Regions from separate parts of the Homo sapiens genome. Here region 2 is linked to region 1. The links are contacts of gene promoters, found by promoter capture Hi-C in human tissues and cell types (Jung and others, 2019). All regions are on one chromosome and are shown on one strand. Each heading gives the region's core, a stretch centred on a gene start or on the middle of the fragment in contact. The rest is flanking DNA. Distances are from core to core; before and after follow the strand shown. Region 1 holds the start of UGT1A6 (UDP glucuronosyltransferase family 1 member A6). Region 2 overlaps USP40 (ubiquitin specific peptidase 40).

The links. Contacts are between HindIII fragments. The study calls those that stand out against the background at their distance.
Region 2: a contact is called between a fragment that was not itself captured here and the fragment with the promoter of UGT1A6 in region 1, in 2 of the 25 tissues and cell types used here (liver and mesendoderm cells).

The regions. Positions count from the first base shown.
Region 1 is chr2:233,691,069-233,695,102 of GRCh38, forward strand. It overlaps UGT1A6 (UDP glucuronosyltransferase family 1 member A6), which reads left to right and starts at 1,822. Exons shown (of 5, transcript NM_001072.4): 1 at 1,822-2,797. The coding sequence starts at 1,937. All of the region lies in intron 1 of UGT1A8 (UDP glucuronosyltransferase family 1 member A8), which reads left to right. All of the region lies in intron 1 of UGT1A10 (UDP glucuronosyltransferase family 1 member A10), which reads left to right. All of the region lies in intron 1 of UGT1A9 (UDP glucuronosyltransferase family 1 member A9), which reads left to right. It also overlaps UGT1A7 and UGT1A. RefSeq lists enhancers at 1-567, 568-1,174. The HindIII fragment of the contact is 31,227 bases long and covers 1-4,034 here.
Region 2 is chr2:233,509,865-233,513,898 of GRCh38, forward strand. USP40 (ubiquitin specific peptidase 40) reads right to left here. Exons shown (of 32, transcript NM_001365479.2): 19 at 2,705-2,758; 20 at 1,845-1,933; 21 at 185-271. Among named protein-coding and RNA genes, the nearest start is that of USP40, 55 kb to the right of the region's middle. The HindIII fragment of the contact is 4,674 bases long and covers 1-4,034 here.

The DNA.
Region 1 (4,034 bases), core at 572-3,071:
ATGTGAAGTTTGTAGCATCTCTTGATCCCGCTATTCCTACATGCTTGCTTAAGCCATTCTTCCTCTAGATGAACTGTTCTTTGAAGGAAACCTGCCTAATGTCTGCCTGCTCAAGAAGGTGGACCTGAGCTCTGTTCCCTTTGCAACCTTCCTGGAGTCTTATTGCTATCTAGATGAACTCAAAGCAAGATGCTGCCGCCCCCATGACTTTGATCATTGTAAGCTGCCAATCCTCTTGGGAGGCTGCTCCCAGCTTGGACTGAGCTGAGTCTTCGCATGCCTTGAACAATGAATTTGCATCCTGGTTATGTTCCCCATGGGGGCCAGCCCTGTCCTTGGAGTGGCCCCTCTAATCATGTTGCTCAGGCTTCTTCTCCCTTCCTGGGCCCCAGAACACCTCCGGTGCCAAACTTGTGGGTGGGAACAGGAACTCGCGTGCCAGCCAGGTGTGCATGACTAGCTCTGGGCAAGTCTGTTCTAGTAATTCAAGGTACCACCTCTCACTGGGACAGCCTAGTTTCTACACAGGTCTTGCTCTGGGACCGCCCTCAGCAGTGTGGTTAGCAGGCAGGGCCAGTGTGACCCTCCCTTTCTGGGCCTCAGTTGAGAAACCTGAAGCTCAGGAGAGGAGTCACTCCCCTGGCAGATGGGTGGCTGGGCCAGAAGCAGATACCAGGCTTTCTGACTCCTGCTCTAGGATTCTCACCACGTACTGGCTAGACTTATACTTCTCAAATCTTAATTTCCTAAAGGCAAGTAACAGTTTGAATGTTGTTATATTGTGATGTATAATAAGAAATATATGTTTGTCTTTGTTTCCTGGACACAGCTCCTGAAACCATAAGTGGTGGGAGCGATAAACGTGAACAAAGAATCTTTTGTTATTCAAAACAGATCCCTTTCGATCACACCTAAGTTTATGTAAAGGAGATGTAAAGTCTCTAAGGATGAGGGCTAGTTGCCAGGGAACAAAACCCTTGCGATTAGAGGGAAGAAAGGAGAGAGAGATTGAAGATTGATTTGATCACCGATGGGCAACAATCTAATCAATCATGCCTACTATGTATGGAAGCCTACATAAAAACTCAGAAGGGCAGGGTTCAGAGAGCTTTCAGGTTGCTGAAGGTGTGGAGGGTGGGGCACCCAGAGATGGCAGATGGGGCTCCATGGCCATACCCCCATATCTTGTTCTTTGTACTTTTTCCTCTGGCTATTCATCCGTATTGTTTGCAATATCCTTTGTAATAAACCAAACCTAGTAAATAAACTGTTTTCTTCAGTTCTGTGAGCCATTCTAGCAAATGATTGACTCCAAGAAAGAGGGTGTGTGAACCTCTGATTTTTGCCAAGTCAGACAGAAGTTGTGGGTAACCTGGGGACCTACTACTTGCAATTGGTGTCTGAAGTGAGGGCAGTCTTGTAGGACTGAGCCCTTAACCTGTGGGGTCCGTGCTAACTCAGAATTCAGTTCAGAATGGAATTGAATTGTAGGATACCCAGCTGGTGTTAGAGAATAGGTCCGTGTGCAAGAAAAATTCCCGCACATCATGGACATAACAGACAACGTCAATGATGAGGAATCCAGCAAGTTCGGGATAGAGAATTGGCAGGGGGTCCTCAGGGGTCTCTCCAAGTCATCTTCAAAGTGTTGCTATAACTTTTCAGAGAGGGAGAAGCAGACTTGTGGAGCTGAAGAGAAACACCCAGAAGCTCAGGTGAAAGCTGACACGGCCATAGTTGGTTCATATTAACCATGTGATTAAAATGGTTAAATATTAATTTGGGTTCTTACATATCAAAGGGTAAAATTCAGAGCAAGGGAGAGGTAGACAGGACCTGTGAAAAGCAGTGGTTAGTTTAGGGAAAATACCTAGGAGCCCTGTGATTTGGAGAGTGAAAACTCTTTATTACCGTTGTTACTTTAACTCTTTCCAGGATGGCCTGCCTCCTTCGCTCATTTCAGAGAATTTCTGCAGGGGTTTTCTTCTTAGCACTTTGGGGCATGGTTGTAGGTGACAAGCTGCTGGTGGTCCCTCAGGACGGAAGCCACTGGCTTAGTATGAAGGATATAGTTGAGGTTCTCAGTGACCGGGGTCATGAGATTGTAGTGGTGGTGCCTGAAGTTAATTTGCTTTTGAAAGAATCCAAATACTACACAAGAAAAATCTATCCAGTGCCGTATGACCAAGAAGAGCTGAAGAACCGTTACCAATCATTTGGAAACAATCACTTTGCTGAGCGATCATTCCTAACTGCTCCTCAGACAGAGTACAGGAATAACATGATTGTTATTGGCCTGTACTTCATCAACTGCCAGAGCCTCCTGCAGGACAGGGACACCCTGAACTTCTTTAAGGAGAGCAAGTTTGATGCTCTTTTCACAGACCCAGCCTTACCCTGTGGGGTGATCCTGGCTGAGTATTTGGGCCTACCATCTGTGTACCTCTTCAGGGGTTTTCCGTGTTCCCTGGAGCATACATTCAGCAGAAGCCCAGACCCTGTGTCCTACATTCCCAGGTGCTACACAAAGTTTTCAGACCACATGACTTTTTCCCAACGAGTGGCCAACTTCCTTGTTAATTTGTTGGAGCCCTATCTATTTTATTGTCTGTTTTCAAAGTATGAAGAACTCGCATCAGCTGTCCTCAAGAGAGATGTGGATATAATCACCTTATATCAGAAGGTCTCTGTTTGGCTGTTAAGATATGACTTTGTGCTTGAATATCCTAGGCCGGTCATGCCCAACATGGTCTTCATTGGAGGTATCAACTGTAAGAAGAGGAAAGACTTGTCTCAGGTTGGTGGGTTTATTTCTTTTGGACTGCCTTGTTTCTTCCAGGCTCTGTCCTCCCTCACTCATTTGGCTCCTTGAGCCGACTGTCCCTTGGAGGATTTCCTGGAGAAACGGTGGGGGGAAGTGATACCCGGCTCGGAGCAGCGGGAACACATAGGAGACCTGAGGCTGAAGTGATACAGAGGCATTCGGATGAAGACAGGGCTCATGCTTGGCAAGAGTAGGAGATTTGCTTAGTTGGATAATCTGGGACAGTCACATACTCATTGAATGAGCCTTAGAAATGTCCCAGTTCAAACAGAGGTGAAGGCTTGACTAAGGGAACAGGTCCAGGTTAAAATCCATTTTCCCAACTCTGTCCCATGCTTTGTCTCTGGACCTTGAGCCAGGGACCAGCGAACTACAGCCTGTGAGCCCAATCTGCCCAAAGGCCTGTTTTTTGTTTTTTTTTTTCCTTTTATGTTGAGACCTGTTTTTATATGGCCCAGAGCTAAGAATGGTTTTTGTAGTTTTAAAACAATTTAACAATGAAGAATATGTGCCACAGAAGTATTTGGTCTGCAAAGCCTACACATTTACTGACTGGCCTTTTCAGCAAAAGGGGTATGGCCTCTGACCTAAGACAAGTGTTTACAGATGCCCTCCTGACATGTAGGAAAAGGGCCCAGAGTTACTTTGGAAAATAAAAATCTGTGAGTTTTAAATTTCAATGTAAATATTTACAACTTTGAAGGGCTTCAGGCAACTCCCTCTATCTTTTATGCCTCAATTTTCTTTTCCAGTTCCTTTTTTATCAGAGAGAAAGCCTCAAACAGGTCCCAAAGACCCTTACCTCTCTTCTTTACACCTGCTGATTTCTCTGTTAACAATTTGAACAGTTGGCAGTAGCCACTGTGAAAAGGCAAGGGTGAGGGGATGGGGATAACTGAAATGGTTCCAGGGATTCTGGGGCATGAAATAAAAACATAGAATGTCAGGATTCTTTTAATTGGGACATAATATAGTTGTACACATTTGGGGGGTTCATGTGATATTTTGATACACGTATACAATGTGCGATGATCAAATCAGGGTAATTGAGATATCCATCACCTTGAACATTTATTCCTTCCTTATGTTGGGAACATTCCCATTCTTCATTTCTAGCTATTTTGAACTGCAGTATACATTCTTGTTAACCATAGTCACCCTACTGTGCTATCGCACTTTGGACTTACTCATTCTATCTAATGGTGTTTTT
Region 2 (4,034 bases), core at 777-3,276, 180 kb before region 1:
CCAGTTGGTTCACCAATTTTCAAGCTCCCAAAATAATTCCTCTAGTGAGTACATATAATTCTCTGAAGTACACCATATCAGGCCTAGTTTAGGACCTCCAAATCTTAACACAGGATACCACTGTTCCTCACAGCAAACATACAAACACACACAGCCTCTGAAAACAAAAGGTAAAATTACTTACATCTCTCACAGATATTGTTTCTTCTACTACGATTTCCATTTCTGTCCCAGGTTGAACGTCACTCCCCATTGCAAAAAACAGGAACAACTAATAACAAGACAGATGTGTAAATGCAATTTAATCTGAATTTAAAAATCCAATAAATGTATTATTTACTTTCAAAAATGTAAAGCCAAGGGCCCATGAAACTTTAACAAAAAATCTCAATTTATATGAAAATACGACTATGATTAATGTTACAATTTAAGCAATAATTATGCCTACCCAGAAGTATAAATTGCTTCATCATCAATGTTTTTTACTCCTAATAAATGTCTCCCACATACACTACTTCTTTTTCTTTCTTTTTTTTTTTTTTTTTTTTTTTTTTTGAGATGGAGTTTTGCTCTTGTTGCCCAGGCTGGAGTGCAGTGGAGCGATCTTGGCTCACTGCAACCTCTGCTTCCCAAGTTCAAGCGATTCTCCTACCTCAGCCTCCCATGTAGCTGGGATTCCAGGTGCATGCCACTACGCCTGGCTAATTTTTTGTATTTTTAGTAGAGGCAGGGTTTCACCATGTTGGCCAGGCTGGTGTTGAACTCCTGACTTCAGGTGATCCACCCGCCTCAGCCTCCCAAAGGGTTGGGATTACAGATGTGAGCCACCGCGCCCGGCCAACATACACTATTTCTTCTACTATGATCTCCATCTCTGTCTCGATCACTCCCAAAAGGAATTTGTAATTACTACACACAGTTAGCATTAGTATGTTTTTTCTGAGTCACTTGGTTATGATTTTATTTTCTGCCAAGGGTTTCAAATATTACAATTCTCAAGACTCCAAAGGAAAAATACAAATCTGATCTCTTATTCAGTTCCTCATAGCCCTGCTTTTCCTTTCTAACTCAACCTCACTTGTCATGTTTTCCCTCCTATCAGCTTGTCATGCACTACTATTTGCTACGGTTCAGGGGAAAGCAAGTTAAGGGGGAAGTGGTTGGGAAAGTAATGAAGTGAATTTGGGAACCATGGGCAACCTGATTTGAGTCCAGATTACCCTGCTACAGGGTATTCACAATAAGAATATCCTTATGATTTCTGCACTGTAATAAGCTGATTAGCTGGGTATGGCTTCTGGCAAAGGTCAAACCTGATGGTGTTTTATACTGAAAATGGACACTGTTAAAGACAAGGGGAAAGGGAGGCTGCTCTGAGACTATTAGTGCAGAGAGTAATTAAGTCTAAAATTAATAAACTGTGTTTCATTCAACCTAAAATGCTACTGAGTGTTAGACTTACTATTTTCTGTACCAGTGCCAGCTATAACTGCAGAACGTCCCTGACTGTAAGATGCAACCTAATCTCACAGATGTAAAAATGTGAGAAAAAGAAGGTGTATCTTAGAACTTAGGAAATATAGTGGTTGAAAGTGGTGGCCACTCAGCATCAAAGATTCCTTTTAACCACAAAATCTTCACAGAAAAAGAAACATAAATATGCTTTGGCATAATATTTTATATTTAAACATCTAGAACTATAAGGATATATTCCTAAAATAAAATGTATGATTTAAGAAAAAACTTTTAGAGAAAAACAATATTACTGGAGTAGCTAAGGTACTAGTTATAATTCTGGTTATGGAAGGGTTGATTTTGTTTTGAAACAGGTGACCTTATTTTACCTGAGACGAACTTGGTGCTTTTCCAAGACACAGTCCCAATGAACTTCCCATCTTCAATTCTGCTTCCTTCAAAGTATAGCTGTCCGGCACTTAAAAAAATTTTGATAATATGATGAAGGTTATTAATTCCTAGCTCTCTAAGAAAAATAAATGCTGAAATCAGTATTTCTTTGAAAATCAAGAATATCAAGAAAGAAGAAAAATGAGTTGCACTTCAGACAAAAGGATTACATGCACTAAGATTAGGTTTGATTTTCAATTTCCATACTCTTAAGATATTGTCTTCCTGTTTTCTATGTAACAATGCTAAATGGAAGCTATGAAAGTCTAGTTTCCTACTTAATAAAAATGACTTGTTCAAAGAGCTGTTGTTTATATAGATTAAAAGCCAGATAATCCAAATCAATCCATAAATGAAGAAGTAGCTTCTTCCAAGTTTAAAGTTGAGATTGTTATTACCATCAATAATTAGGCTCATCCATGACTAAATTAAATCTAATGGTAAGAGGTGATACAGAGATGAGAACTGAAGATTTTATTTCATAATTGGTATCGCAATAAAATTCACAAAAAAATGGAAAAATTTTGAAAATAAAGCTGGAAAAAATATAACTAGATCAAACCCGTGAGTAAAATGAGAATCGGATAATCAGAAAGAATGGTGTTTCATTTAGAAAACAGAAGTGTTTGTTTCTGGTTAAGGATTTCTGCAATATAAAGGTAAGATACCTGGAAGAAAATATGTCCTATAAATCAGTTTCCAAAAGGTAATTTTTAAATATTAGGTATTGGAGGCCACTATTTATCAAGAAAGACAGACGAGTATAAGCCACCTTTTGAAAGTTATCAAAAAGATTTACCTGGACAAAGAAGCTTCCCATTTCTATCAATAGGTCTCAAACAGCTGTTGTCAGCTATATATAAAAGGAATATTATTTTTCTTAGAGAGCTAGGAATTAATAACCTTCATCCTATTATCAAAATAAAAGGAAGCTGGTTACAGCATCAAACACAGAAAACAAAAGAGAGATGCTCTATTGTGTTAATTAGCAGAAAACTACAGAAAGCTAAAAACAAAAACAAACCAAAAACCCCCCAACAACCAAAGAAAAAACCCCCAAAATAAGTACAGGCAGTCTTTGTTTTGTGCAGTAGTGCAAGACTAAAAGTACCTGGTCAAACTGTGCAAAACAATATTAATAATCAATGGAAAAATTACAATCGTTCCATGACACTTAAAAATTTTTGTTGAAACATTTAAAACCCTCTTCGTTATTAATATTATACATGTATTGGGAAAGGAAAAAACAGTAAAACCAATATTTATACTATAATTTAAAATACTAGAATCTTTGAGAATTAAAATGTTTTCTGTCTTTGTAAATTACATATAAAGAGTCGTTTAAGCAGGGCTTGGTTTCTTCTCATTGCATAGCTTATAATATAGAGTGACATTTTTCCTGTCCTGTGGCAAACTGTCATACTCCTTTCTAAGTTTGGATCAGCTTCCAATATCTAGAGTCTCTTGAGTGACTGCAGGGTCAACATTCCCAGAGGTAGCTGCTGCTTCTATAACTCCATATACTTTTGTTTCTTTGTGTACTTTCTTCTCTGTTGGTCAATTCCCTCTTTTGATTATGTATTCTTGTAAAATGTCATGGTGGGTTTAGCACTACAACACAACTACATGCTTTGCTGTCTGTGTAATGAAGTGTACATGCAGTGACAAACCACCAGACTTGAAAGAAATGAAGTCAATGGTTACTGCTTGTGGTGCACATGTGTTATTTATGTGATGAATTGTGCCCTGAAGAGCTGGCAGTCAAGTGTGTACTTTATTCAGTTACAGTTAATATACCATATACCATGGTTGCTGAAATTTTAACCATCTTGCTGGGGGATTGATGTTATATAACTAAATGGTAGTAATGAAATTCGTGCATGTCAGAGCAGTACAAGCAGACTGCCTATATTTAAAATATGTTGGGTGATTTTATGCTTATTAAATCGGCCAGCATGTGCTATGTTTGAGGATACAGATTCTTGCTTTGGAAGAATATATTTCCTCAAGATCCCCTGGTGCTTGGAAGGGGCATACCAAGTTTTCAGTTCAAACAGAATTCTTAAAAAGTAGGACATAAATTGGAGGGGTGGGGGAAGGTTGAGTGTTCTGTATAGACAACAATAGTC